Linked DNA regions of Homo sapiens: all the other regions are linked to region 1. Evidence: promoter capture Hi-C in 16 types of primary human blood cells and fetal thymus (Javierre and others, 2016). All regions are on one chromosome and are shown on one strand. Each heading gives the region's core, a stretch centred on a gene start or on the middle of the fragment in contact. The rest is flanking DNA. Distances are from core to core; before and after follow the strand shown.

Region 1 (4,728 bases), core at 2,001-4,500:
GAAGTTAAATATGATTACAAGAGGTGTTCATTGATGCCATGTTGACAACCGATAGACTCTGGTACTTTTTTTGTTGCTGTTGTTAATTAGTTTTTATTTCATAATCATAAACTTAACTCTGCAATCTAGCTAGGCATGGAAAGGAACAAGGAAAACATAGAACCCAAAGGGAACTGCAGTGAGAGCACAAAGATTCTAGGATACTGCGAGCAAATGGGGTGGAGGGTGCTCTCCTGAGCTACAGAAGGAATGGTCTGGTGGTTAAGATAAAACACAAGTCAAACTTATTAGAGTTGCCCACAGTCAGCAATGGTGATCTTCTTACTGGTCTTGCCATTCCTGGACCCAAAGCACTCCATGGTCTCCACAATATTCATGCCTTCTTTCACCTTGCTGAAGACCACATGCTTGCCATCCAACCACTCAGTCTTGGCAGCACAGATGAAAAACTGGGAACTGTTTGCGTTGGGTCCAGCATTTGCCATGGACAAGATGCCAGAAACTGTATGCTTCCGGATGAAGTTCTTGTCATCAAATTTCTCCCTGTAGATGGACTTGCCACCAGTGCCATCATGGCATGTGAAGTCTCCACCCTGACACATAAACCCTGGAACAATTCTGTGAAAGCAGGAACCCTTATAGCCAAATCCTTTCTCTCCAGTGCTCAGAGCATGAAAGTTTCCTGCTGTCTTTGGAAACTTGTCTGCAAACAGCTCAAAGGAGATGCGGCCCAAGGGCTCCGTGTCAAAGAACACGGTGGGGTTGACCATGGCTGATAGCACAGGGCTCCTGGCAGCAGCGGTGCCTGCAAAGCCCAGTGGTGTTTTTTTTACCATGTCAACTTAGCTAGGCTAGAACCACATTTCCTAGATTCCTTTCCCTGCATAGTTTTGGGTTAGGGCTAGCTATAAGAGAAATGTGTGCAGTTTGGAAGGCAGAAGTGGAGCAACAGTCATTACATTCTGAAGGTCACCAGCTCCCACATGGGGTAGGAGCTGGGCCTGCAGCTCCTTCAGTTACCACTGTATCTTCTAGATCAACTTCTGTGAGTTCTGGGCCACGAGCATGTGCAGCCCCATGGTGAAGGGTACCAGCTGTTCCAGCTGAAAAAATGTGCAGCAAAGGGTCACGGTATTACCCGGTGCTGGGGGAAGGGAATAGGAAGATTCACTACAGTCATATATTTTTACATAATATTTGACTTTTTCATGACAAAGGATTTTTAAATTAGAAAAGCACCATAAAGTTGAATTAACCAAAAAAGAGAGAGAGAAAGTCCAGACCCTTCAGTGACTACCTCTGTCTACATAAGATCAGACTCCTCAGTCTGGTATGTGAGGCCCTGGACAATCAGGTGCTAGTGTACTTTTTTAACTTTATCTGTCACTACTTCCCTTCCTGTGCCCTCCACTCTGGAATTCTTCCTGGGACTGTAGGACTTTAGTTGGGCCAGAAGGGCTGGGTCTGGGATAGGGTTGCTTAGAGAGTGCCGTGATGCCGCAGCCTCAATGCTAACTTTTGTTTTTTTGTTTTTTTTTTTTTTTGAGACGGAGTCTTGCTCTGTCGCCCAGGCTGGAGTGCAGTGGCATGATCTCGGCTCACTGCAAGCTCTGCCTCCTGGGTTCACGCCATTCTCCTGCCTCAGTCTCCTCAGTAGCTGGGACTACAGGCGCCCGCCACCTCGCCCGGCTAATTTTTTGTATTTTTAGTAGAGACGGGGTTTCACCGTGTTAGCCAGGATGGTCTCGATCTCCTGACCCCGTGATCTGCCCGCCTCGGCCTCCCAAAGTGCTGGGATTACAGGCGTGAGCCACCTCGCCCGGCCAATGCTAACTTTTTTTAGGTAACATCTTCTGTAGACTTTTAGACATTATCTCATTGAGTTCTCATAGACTCTGCAAGGTAAGTATTACTCCCATCCAGAACCAGACACCTGATTTGCAGGGTCCAGTGCAAACTAAAAAAAGCGTGGCCCCTTGTTCATACATGTATTAAGAATTTCAAGCCGGGCATGGTGGCTCAGGCCTGTAATCCCAGCACATTGGGAGGCCGAGGTGGGCGGATCACCTGAGCTCAGGAGTTCGAGACCAGACTGGCCAACGTGACGAAACTCTGTCTCTACTAAAAATAGAAAACTTAGCCGGGCGTGGTTGTGCACGCCTGTAGTCCCAGCTACTCCGGGGGCTGAGACAGGAGAATCGCTTGAACCCGGGAGGCGGAGGTTGCGGTGAGCTGAGATCGCCCCACTGCACTCCAGCCTGGGCGACAGAGCAAGACTCCATCTCAAAAGAAAAAAAAAAAAAATCAAAATGACAGCAGAGCATTAAATGAAGTGTAAGGCCATGTGTGACTGTACCAGTGTGAACCTATGAGGCCAGTCCCACCCCTATCTTACATCTAGGGAACAGGTACACAGAGATGAAGTAAATTCCCAAGGTTACTTTGTCAAGAGCTTGGAAAATATAAGAGTCAGAAGTCTAACAGGTTGAATCCCTATTAAACTCTCCCCAACTAAACTACGCCCCTCCCTGTTGAGCTGAATCTAATGAAAGCTTCCTAAATGTATTAACCACACACACGCACAATCTGCTATCAGTCACTTTCAGTAGTTCATCGCTGTAACATCTCAGGAGTTCAATGTTTCAACGTGTTCTGTAGATTACTGTGATAACGCGGCAAGCTGTCGTAAGACTTCTTGCTGCACATTTCTTTTTAAAATATTCTCCAGGAGTCTGATGAAAAATACAGACATACCTATGTTTAATGTCAATGGATGGAACTTATTTTAAAAAGTACTGTAATGGCAGAAGTTGTGACACAAAGTACTGCAGTGATGTTGTAACTCCAACACCTAAATATATTATCAAGCATTCGCGTTTTGTTTTGTTTTTTAAGTGACTACTAGATACTGTGATTCACTTAAGTGAAGCGAACTGAAGCCCGTGGTCAAGGAGAGACACCTGAAGGTGAAGGGACAAAGCGAGCAGGGTAAGAGCTCGAGCCCGACCCCTCTCAAAAAATATAGACCCGGAACGCGCGCCTGCGCAGAACGAATCCTCCCGCGCACAAGCCGGGCGGAAGAGCTGGGGCGGGCAGGGGCGGGAATAAGGTTGCTAGGAGAACGCGATGACGCTACGGGCTCGGCGCTCTTCTCCACCAATGGGCGACGCGTACTTGCAGTGGCGCGCTGTGTGCGTCACGCCGACGACGCGCGAAGGGCACACATCTTAGGACCCGGAGGACGTCCGGCCTCTGTGAGCCGCAACCTTTCCAAGGGAGTGGTTGTGTGATCGCCATCTTAGGGAGTGAGTGTGGCCGGGCCTTCTCCTGTGGCGGGTGTGGGGAGCGGAGCCCAGAGCTCCTGTGGGGCCGCTGCTTTGGCGGTGGGCCCAGCCGGGAGCAGCCTCTTTCGAAGGCCGCCGTGACCTCTTCAAGGGCGTGGAGACGGGAAGGAAAAGGCCCCGGTTGGGGTTCCAGGGCGCCGGTAACGTTAACCGGCGCCTTGCCTGTCCTCTAACCGTCGCTCCCTCCTCCCCTAGAAAGATGTTCTCGTCCGTGGCGCACCTGGCGCGGGCGAACCCCTTCAACACGCCACATCTGCAGCTGGTGCACGATGGTCTCGGGGACCTCCGCAGCAGCTCCCCAGGGCCCACGGGCCAGCCCCGCCGCCCTCGCAACCTGGCAGCCGCCGCCGTGGAAGGTGAGATCAGACCCTGCCCAATACAGTCGTGTGGTCTACTTGTGGGCCGCCCAGCCTTTGAGGCCTGGACCCGGCTTGGAGGACAGGGAAGGACGAGTCCAGCCCGCTGCACCGTAGGACGGCGCCCAGTTGCTTGCCCTGGGGTATCGGCCTTTTCCACCATAGGCGGGTGTCAGATCCTTGGCCTTCCCTCAAGGGCGTGGAAGCGCTGAGGCCCTGTGTCCCTTCGTGACCTCCGTGTGCCCGAGGGAAGAGAGGCCGTGACTAGCTCTTTCTCCGCCGTGAGCTCGCTTGGTCAGCAAACTAAGTACTGGGTAAACTCTCCTCCCGAAACTACTGACCACCCACAGTTCTACTAACTATATTACCTGTCCTTTGATTTGCCCTTAGTTTTCTTAAAAATAGTCCTTTCCTAAGTTTTATATTTGTCGACGCCAGGTCAGTCATTTTTGCACTTAATTGTATATGAGATAACTAGATGTCCTGTTTTCGTGCGACTGGAGGAGGCAGCTTGCAGCCCTACATAGGCAATAGAAAGGAGATAATTGGTGGGCGTCCCTTTGGTGTGATTATCTCTTGGGATTCTTGGTGGTTGGGCCCAGCTTTAACTTAGTTGTGTGTGTTTTAAATCCTAGTGAAGTATGTACATACAGAGAAACCTGAAAACCGAATTGTAGGAGTCCTAAGAATGTTATCTACCTTGTGCCTGTAAAATCGAAAGATTTTTTTCTTTAAATCATTCATGTGCTTCTGTTGTCTTTAGTATGGATAGAGTCCTTATTTACACTATCTGTCGTTCAGTTTAAAAGTTAAAGCTAACATTATTTGTGTATTAAATGTATTTGACTGCAGGAATTTGTGCGTATCCGTTTTTATGTTACAGGAGTTCTTAAGTGGGGATAGTATTGGTTAGTGGCTGGGATAAACTTTGAAGTTGTTTGCAAGCCTTTTACATGTCGAGTGATCTTTCTGAGTTTCGTTTGTACTCTGAAGTGTGCTCTTACCAGTGGTTAATAATTTGAAGTTTG
Region 2 (4,698 bases), core at 1,672-4,171, 5.1 Mb before region 1:
TTTTTGTAGAGACAAGGCCTCACTCACTATATTGCCCAGGCTGCTGACTTGTTTTGTATCTCCACTGGAGTGTCTCAGAGCCATCTCAAACTCAACAACTCCCAAACGGAAGTATGCATTTCCACCATCATCAGACTCCCCAAACCTGTTCCTCTTTCAGTCTTCCTTGTCTTATGAAGGGCACCACTGTCAACTAGTCATCAAAGCATCACCTGAAGTATCTTCCTCCCTCTCAATCAATCCATCAGCAAGTTAAGTCATCACTTCCAATTTCAAAATACATCTGGACTCTTCCTGTCTCTCCATCTCCACTGCCACCACCCTCCATCACATGATTTCTTGACTGCAGTACTGCAGTAGCTTCCTTGCTAGACTTGCCTGCGGTCTTGCCACTCTCCAAACCACTCCTCCCAGGGCAGCCAGAGTAACCTTTTAAAAATGGAAATCAAATTATGTCACTTCTTTCATGTAAAAATCTCAAGAGACAGGGCTCACTCTGTCACCCAGGCTGGAGTGCACGGCACGATCATAGCTTACTACCGCCTTGACCTCCTGGGCTCAAGCAATCCTCCCACTTCAGCCTCCCATTCCCAGGGTAACTAGGACTACAGGCACACAGCACCACCTACTCTATTTAATCTCTACATATGTCCTGTGTCCTAACTCCATGTTAACCCCTCCAAGGCTTATGAAGCCCAACATGACCTGGCTCCAAATCTCATCTCCTGCCGCTCTCATCCACACTATCCACCCTACTCCAGTATATGGTAAGCTATTTCCACCACATTAAACCTTTGTGTAAGTTGTTCCCTCACTCAGCCTAAACCTGTCTCTCCCCTCTCTTCCCCCAAAAATGTTGGTTTCTTTTCTGGTCTCAGCTTTGTGAGACCTTCCTTGGTCCCACTAAGTGAGTCTCCCTGTTGGGGACTGGTCCCACTCTGCTCACAGCCATCAAGACTTGACCTCTGGAATTATCTTTGATCCATTCTTCTTACACTTTACGCAGGGAATGTTCAACCAGTCCAGTTGACTGCTCATTCAAATCTGTTTCTCCTCTCTGTCCCTTCCTATTGCACAGTCCAGAAAGACATCATGGGTGGCTTTGGAGGATGGACACGACTGGAAAGGACACAGATGGGCCCTCTGTGGGCTTCTATAAGAGCAAAGATTAGCCTCCTGATATTCCGTGGGAAATGAGGAGACACACTACACAGCCCGTATTTAGTTTTCTTTACTATGTGATGTGTGTTCACTTACTTTCAATACTAGTCACTTCAGGAATATGGTTCTTAACTTGTTGAGGGGTTTATCAATTCCCTGGAATACATAATAAAAGCTATAGATTATTTCTTAGAAAAATATACAAAAGCAAAATTTTGCAAATCATGGGAGAAGGGAATTTCCAGGCGACCGCTTCTGCTTTACCAGCCAATCATCTACTGTCTTGGATACTTGCAGCGTTATCTAGTCTTTTCATTCATTCAGCAAACACTTCCTGGAGACCTATAATGAGACCAAGCACAGTCTGAGATGCTGGGTTTGCATACAGTGAAGAACAAGATAGACATATGTCTCTGTCTTCAAGGAGCTTACATTATCCAGCATAAGAGACATTAAACGAGGTTGGGTGTGGTGGCTCACGCCTGTAATCCAGCCCTTTGAGAGGCCGAGGTGGGCATATCACCTGAGGTAAGGAGTTCGAGATCAGCCGGGCAAACATGGCGAAACCCCATCTCTACTAAAAATACAGAAATTAGCTGGGCGTGGTGGTGGCCACCTGTAATCCCAGCTAATTAGGAAGCTGAGGCAGGAGAATCGCTTGAAGCTGAGAGGCGGAGGTTGCAGTGAGCTGAGATCATGCCACTGCACTCCGGCCTGGGCGATAGAGCAAGACTCCGTCTCAAAAAAAAAAAAAAAAAGAAAGAGACATTCAACGAGCAAACAAATAATCAATATAAAGTCAGGTAATGGTAAATATTCTGAAGGAAAATAAAGCGGGGCATGGAATAAGGGTGGGTGAGGCTATTTTAATGGTGTGGTCCTTTCTAAGATGATATTTGAGAAAGACCTGTAAGGTCATGAGAAGAGGTCAGAGAAGCACATTGCTGGCAATGGGAACAGAGAGTGCAAAGGCCCAGAGGTCTTTCCTTCCTCCTAAGATGGAAAGCGAGGTCCAAGATTCTGCATATTTACTTCCTCCCATAATAGGTAGCCAGCACAGTTCTGAGGGCACAGTGCCAGGTTTTCAGAGTGGAGGTTCTCTTCAGGTTCTGATTTCAAACGTCCAAATCCTAGCCTCCACATTTCAGGGCTTCTCTGGAATGTCTCTTCCCCTGGGAAACTTTAACTCATCTACTAAAGAGCAATCTACGATTTCTCTGAATATTAACATAATTTTTTTAAAAAGTACTTATAGGTTTGCATGGTGGCTCATGCCTGTAATTCCAGCACTTTGGGACGCCGAGGCAGGAGGATTGCTTGAGACAAGCCTGGGCAACATACCGAGACCTCGTCTCTACAAAAATATTAAAAAATTAGCTGGGTGTGGTGGTGTGCGCCTGTAGTACCAGCTACTCAGGAGGCTGAGGTGGGAGGCTCTCTTGGGCCCAGGAGGTAGAGGCTGCAGTGAGCCGTGAGGGAGCCATTGCACTCCAGTCTGGGTGACAGAATGAGACTGCCTCACAAAAAAAAAAAAAAAAAAAAGCTTGTTACTTTCTAAGGGTATGTGTTTGGGGCAGTGATTTTGTTTTTCTGGGCACCTTAGTAACACTGCGGCCACGCTTCCCCAACTAAAGGTAAAAGTCCATAGCAACAATCCTCCCTTTCTCTCTGCACCCGGGCCGCTTTCCCGCGGAGACTACATTTCCCAGAATGCCCCGCGGGCTGGGACGGCGCGCGCAGCGCTGTTTCGTGGGACCAGGATTGAAACAAGATGGCGGGTTCGTGGTGAGAAGCCGTCAAGGTAACCGCTTCCCTCTACTCCTCCTGTCGAGGACTTCCTCGAAACTGGGCAGTCCCACAGTGTTGGTCGGCAGTTGTAGAGGTCTCCCGCCTGTCGTTCCCGGCAGGGCGAGGTTGCCTGCATCCCCAGCCTTTGTCCTTCCTGCAGAAGAGCCGGCATGTGGCTGCGCGTTTCTTATAGCGCCCCCTTTGTTCCCTGGCGGACGCCCGTGGGGAGGTGATGCAGCTTGTGGCTCTAGGGACTCCTTTAGGTCGAAGAGTTCTGGTGCTCTTGGTAGCCTGTTCCTCAAACCTCTGACCCTCAGAGGCTCTGTAGCTTTTGTTTTGGGGTTGAATTCCGGGCTGAGGGACTTGATCTCTGAAATGATCTTCCTGGGGTGAATAATCTGACTCCCAGCAGGGCGTGCTTTTCTCTGGGCTTCGGACAGAGGGGACCTAATTTCCCCCAAGATGTTTTATTCGTGGTCAGAAGTCATGGGTTTACGTCCCACGCATGTATTAAGCAGCGATATACTGAGCAAGTAATCGATTGACCTCTCTGAGCCTTTGTTCTTAATCTGAAATGGAGATGCTGCTTCACACACTTGTGAAAGTCAGAGCACATATTGTATATGAAAGTGGGTTGTAAACTAAAAAGCACACCTATGAGCTCAGGGTTAACGGTGTTAATGTACTGGCAGTGCAAGGTATCAGTGTGAGTGGTTTAGACTAGCAAATAAGAGGGCCTGTGTCCTAATTCTCTTTTATCACTATTGGGGGGAAGGGCACGGATACTCATTGAAGACTATTAAAAACAAGATTTAACAATGGTTATTTGTCATTTATTCACAACAGGCCATGAAGATTGTGGTTTTCCCCATTTTGTCATTGGAGAAACTGAGGATCGTTTAGTTAATGACTTGTTTAAAGTTTCCCAATTTGGCAGTGACTGACTCTAAAGTCCTTGGAAGCAAGACGTTTAAATTTTGTACTTTAGTTTCTTCATGAATCAGAATAAAGATACCTCACATGATTAATACGAGAGCAAAATGAAATGGTGGTGAAAGTACGTTGGAAAGTTAAAGACTTTGTACACATATAAGATGGTGAAATTTTATCTGGGACTTGAGGGCATTTATGAGTTCCTCCAATTGAGTAATAGGCTAAGGATAGGCCTTGTTTGATATTTCTTTATTATTATTATTATTATTAATGGCTCAGGGCAGACAACTATTTCATTTAATCAGAAACAGGATAGTACTGTAAATGATGTAGTATCTTGTGTATGGAACCTTGGAGGGTGTACACAGCCACACTAGCATTAAAAGAATGAATACTCTGTGTACCATTTGTGAGTGACTGTTTCAAGAGTAATTACACATTTACTGAGTATTCATTAAGTGGAAGGAGCTGCACTGGGTCCTGCAGAGAAGTTTGTATCTAAGATAAATAGTAATGGACATAGTTCCAGTGGTTCTGATCTTATATTCTGTCCATGTCGCTCTTCGTCCTGTTGTTCAATCATGTGGAATTGCCAAGTTGTTTAAAAGCATTGCTTCAGTTGACTTCTAGGCAGTGATTCTTACCTTGTTCTTGTGGTGTTTAATATAACTTAAATTTACCATAGGTAGCACTGATTTTTCTTTATCTCTTCAGCAGGAGTAGAAATTGGTATGCTTAGAAGCAGATTCTAAAAGCAGTTTCTCTTCAGAACATCTTTTTTCATACCACTTGATAAGCATCTTGAAACACCATGGC
Region 3 (4,683 bases), core at 1,292-3,791, 5.2 Mb before region 1:
AGAAACCAAGCCCTTTAAATGGGTTGCTCTGTGCTCACTCATAACCTTTACGTATTAGACTTGAATCCCAAACGAGTGTGCAGAGAAATACGGCCCCAGCCTTTGAGATGGGTCTGCTTAGGAGAGCTAGAAACTGCAAAGGGAAAGGTTATTAACTTTTACAAAATGAACAAGTCAACAAGCATTAAGTGTGTTCTGTAAAAAAGATAAAGCCTTAGCGGAAAGGGGCCATGTTGAGGCAAAGTAGTAAACTTTAAATATAAAAGAAATGATAGCCAAAAGGGATCAAGATAGATCAAGGATCTTGTCTGGTTTCCTCAATATTGTGTAATGATATTCTTAATTGAGTGCTTACAATGTGCCAGGCGCTGCCAGAAGAAAACTTGTTATACATTTAATCCTTTTAACACTGGGAGGTAGTGAAGTTACTCCCATTTTATAGGTGAGGAGACAGTTGCAGAGCATAAGTACCTTCCCAAATGACACAATTAGGAAGTGGTAGAGTCAGGATTCAGGGTCCAGTCCTTACTCCTGATGTTGGGCTCTGTTTGTTGAGTGAGTGAGATTTTTGTGAGGCTAAGTTTGGAAGCCTATCTGAAAGTGGTGACTGAAGTGTTGCCATAATGTGAACTTGGAATTCAGGCTTTGTAAAAATACTAGACTCTAGGGGAAAATATGAGTGATGGAAATTGAAATGATGATCTCTATTGTGCTTATGGTAAAGCAAAGACTGATAGAAGCTTTAGGAATTACTTTAGCAATAAAAATAAATGATTATTTTTATGCTTGGATATTATTTCTACTGAAATAAATACTAAATTCATAGCCTCTAGTTGAGTCAAGAGACCCGTGTCATTAGGTAAGGTGAAGTAGGGAGCAAGTTTTGGAGAATGTATTAGAAAAATCCATTGTATAAAACTTTGTAAATCTGATAACCTGTAGGTTGAGAATTGAAGAGAGTGAGTCATCTTGTTAGAGGATATGATCTGAGGGAAGACTCTAGAATTCTCCTTAAGTGAAATGCACAGCCAATTTTAACATCTGGTTTAGCTCTTCAGAATTTTCATTTCTGTGATTGTGTGTAGTTGAGGCTTTATCTATTACATGATTATTACAGAATAAACTCTGTTAGCTTTCCTGGAGATTCTATTGTTTCTCTATGAATTTGCCTTCACTCTGTTGAAATTGCATTGCCAGACTTCCCAGGACAGTCTAGAAAACCAGCTTGAGCCCACCTCTCTAGTTAATAGGTGAGAAATGTTTCCCTCTACTGGATGAAAAACACCTAGATCCTGGTTAGAAGATTTAAATGTATGTTTTGTTTGAGGATGAAATGTTTATATAGAGTACAAATGGAAGTAAAAGAGTAATTGCAATTTGACCCCAAAAAAGCTACGTGGCGCTCCCATCTGGCTGTTCCTGTACTGAAGTTCTCAGTAAGTTTCTACTTTAAAACAGATTGTTCTAGGAAAGAAGGTTGTTCTAAGAGCAGAGTTATTCTTTTAAGGTGGCTTTATATATTAAATATTTTCCATTTTATCTTTTTCTGTTCTGTAGGGTAAATAAGTATTAGTATTTGTTTAGGAAGAAATTAGGTAGCAGAAGTAACCTATCCCAAGGTCACAGAAGCTGGCAGATCCTTTTGAGCTCTGGTCCTTTGTTTCTAAATGTTTTGTTTATTTGACCTACCTCCCCAGCTAGTTATTTCTGTGGGGAAGCACCCTCAGTTTTGGCCGCTGGGCTTCTAGACAGGCCCACAGCTAATTGCCCTGTAGAGTAGCTGGGTACTGTGCTTGTACAGTGAAAGATGACAATGCTTTTACAAATAGGTAATCAGAAATGGATTCTGTTGAATGTATTTGCATATATGATAGTTTAAAAGGGGATGAAGAGATGAGGTCTTAGCTCCTAAGAATCATTCTGTAGGGAAAGGTTGGACAAGGGATCAATGGAAAGGGAAATAAAGTAAGGGAAAAGTGCGGTCGGGTATTCTGGGGTTCAGATCCAATGTGAGTCATTTGGAGTTGGATGTGGGTGACTGGGAGAGGAGGGACCAGGCGTCCCAAATAGAGCAAGACTTGGGGCTGTGATAGATTTGGCTGCAGCTTAGGGATAGCATAGAATCAGTAATAGTTGAAAAATTTGCAACACTTCAAATGTAAGGTTGAGAAGTTGCTACGCAAGAACAAAGTTTTGTTTTGAACTTAGTTTTGAACAAAGAACATTGAGATAGTAGATGTGTTCAAGCTTGAGAGTGATCTGGCAGCAAAATAGGTTTAGACTGCTAAGGGGAGAAGTAGAATGACTTGATCCTGTGTGAAATCCAGACATAGTTGCAAGAGAGGCATTAACAAATCAGTCTGAAGGACTAACCACTACAGGCCAGGCAGGTGGCTCATGCCTGTCATCCCAGCACTTTGGGAGGCGGAGGTGGGCAGATCACCTGAAGTCAAGTGTTTGAGACCAGCCTGGCCAACATGGCGAAACCCTGTCTCTACCAAAAATACAAAATACAAAAAGCAGCCGGGCGTGGTGGCATGTGCCTGTAATCCCAGCTACTCAGGAGGCTGAGGCATGAGAATCCCTTGAACCTGGGAGGTGGAGGCTGCAGTGAGCCGAGATCATGCCATTGCACTCCAGCCTGGGCAACAGAGCAAGACCCTGCCTGCAAAAAAAAAAAAAAAAACAACAAAAAAAACCACTACTCTTCCATAGGACTTGCTGCCCTAATTAGCTTTTAAGCTCTATGAGCCAGGGGCTGTCTTCTACAGATGGTCTGCTATAATGCTGAATATATATTCCTGAAAAATCTTGAGCTGTACAAAATCATGCAGTAAAGCTTTGGTGGGAAAGGTCAAGTCTGAAAACCTAAAACCAGAGCTCCGATGAGCAACAATACTAATTCAAAATATTACTAGAGTTAAATCTCAACTAGCATTTTTATACTTAGAATCAACAGTCAGTCCACCCTTTTCACACATACTCTGGGGCTCATAGTTCTTCAGAGTTAAGTCCTTGAAGGTATTTCTTTCAAATGGAGACCACTTTCATCAAAAATAAGTACTATCCAAAGGTAGCCTTTTTTTTTTTTTTTTTTTTGAGACAGAGTCTCGCTCTGTCCTCCAGGCTGGAGTGCAGTGGCGCGATGTCAGCTTACTGCAAGCTCCGCCTTCCAGGTTCACGCCATTCTCAAGTAGCTGGGACTACAGGCAGCCGCCACCATACCTGGCTAATTTTTTGTATTTTTAGTAGAGAAGGGGTTTCACTGTGTTAGCCAGGATGGTCTTGATCTCCTGACCTTGTGATTTACCCACCTCAGCCTCCCAAAGTGCTGGGATTACAGGCATGAGCCACTGCACCCGGCTTGGAAGCCTTTTTTAAACACAGGGAAGTGTCACCAACTTCTTCATCTGTGCCTCCAGCTCTCCCAGAAGGTTTCCCGTCATTAAACCAGGCATTAACGTAGAATTTGCATTGGATTTTTTTTTTTTTTCTTAGGGTCTTGGTATAGCTCAAGCTTTTCTCTAATTGAAAAAAAGCTTATACCCCGTCACTTTAAAACATTGACCTGCTAGGTAAAAAATCCATGGTCAACCTGATTTACAACATTATTGATAATACTTATCTACCAATCCCATATAAGTTGGAGCTAAACATAGTTTAGAAGAAAGAACTGTTATTTCTGGTCTACTCTGCCTCTGGTCCAAAAAGAAGTACTAATTTTCTTAATAGTAGGTAGCTGTTTAGCATGTATCAAACCATTTTCATAACCTATGTTCTTTTAAAATGTCTATGTGCATAGTGGGTGTTTCTAATAACACGGCTGGCCTAATTTTGGCTAAATTTTGGTTAAGTGTAGTAGAATTAGGTTAACGTAGTTTCAACCATTCATGATACCCTGATTTATGATAATTTGGAAAGAAAGAATAGCAACCTCGAAACAGTTTCTGAGTAGGCCAGGTGCAGTGGCTCACGCCTGTAATCCCAGCCCTTTGGGAGGCCAAGGTGGGTGGATCACCTGAGGTCAGGGGTTCAAGACCAGCCTGGGCAACATGGCAAAACCTCGTCTCTACTAAAAATACAATAATTAGCCAGGCGTGGTGGTGTGTGCCTGTAGTGCTGGCTACTCCGGAGGCTGAGGTAGGAGAATCCCTTGAACCCAGGAGGCGGGGCTTTCAGTGAGCTGAGATTGCGCCACTGCACTCCAGCCTGGGCGACAGAGCGAGACAGCGTCTCAGAAACAGCAACAACAACAAACAGTTTCTGAATAGCTACAATTTTCATAATAAACCTCTTCATTCTTAGGGGTCACTTGAGGTTCTCTGGATGGCTCCTCCGCTCCCCTTCCCGGGAACAGAAGTGGTATCTATAGTGGTTGGAGTTCCTAGAGCCAAGCCATGACAATTGCATCTTTAAGGGTAAAAGCTGAAACACAAATGGGAATTCGAGGCCCAAGGACCTACAGCCTCTGAAGGCATAAATGCATTACATAGCCCTTGAACAGCACCCTTTTATACATCACCAGCGAGGAGGACCCGTCAGGTGATAAAGGGTATAGATTCTATAAAATAGATCAGGGGTGCCCAAGCTTTTTTTTTTTTCTCGCTCTGTCACCAGGCTGGAGTGCAGTGGTGCAATCTCAGCTCACTGCAAACTCTGCCTCCTGGATTCAAGCGATTCTCC

The links. The method cuts DNA at HindIII sites, captures the fragments that hold promoters and counts their contacts. A CHiCAGO score of 5 or more calls a contact.
Region 2: a contact is called between the fragment with the promoter of MRPL42 here and the fragment with the promoter of SLC25A3 in region 1, in 2 of 17 cell types (total CD8 T cells and total CD4 T cells). The highest score is 9.8, in total CD8 T cells.
Region 3: a fragment that was not itself captured here is called in contact with the fragment with the promoter of SLC25A3 in region 1 in 1 of 17 cell types (non-activated CD4 T cells); the score reaches 6.8 in non-activated CD4 T cells.

Annotation. Positions count from the first base shown.
Region 1 is chr12:98,590,436-98,595,163 of GRCh38, forward strand. It overlaps SLC25A3 (solute carrier family 25 member 3), which reads left to right and starts at 3,251. Exons shown (of 8, transcript NM_002635.4): 1 at 3,251-3,305; 2 at 3,540-3,700. The coding sequence starts at 3,544. It also overlaps the pseudogene PPIAP8. RefSeq lists enhancers at 2,773-2,992, 3,041-3,665, 3,243-3,342, 3,666-4,290. The HindIII fragment of the contact is 3,126 bases long and covers 2,551-4,728 here.
Region 2 is chr12:93,464,593-93,469,290 of GRCh38, forward strand. MRPL42 (mitochondrial ribosomal protein L42) reads left to right here and starts at 2,922. Exons shown (of 6, transcript NM_014050.4): 1 at 2,922-2,962; 2 at 4,600-4,698. The coding sequence starts at 4,694. RefSeq lists enhancers at 2,754-2,813, 2,874-3,143. The HindIII fragment of the contact is 2,939 bases long and covers 2,703-4,698 here.
Region 3 is chr12:93,379,596-93,384,278 of GRCh38, forward strand. The region is part of intron 1 of NUDT4 (nudix hydrolase 4); the gene reads left to right. Among named protein-coding and RNA genes, the nearest start is that of NUDT4, 4.0 kb to the left of the region's middle. The HindIII fragment of the contact is 592 bases long and covers 2,246-2,837 here.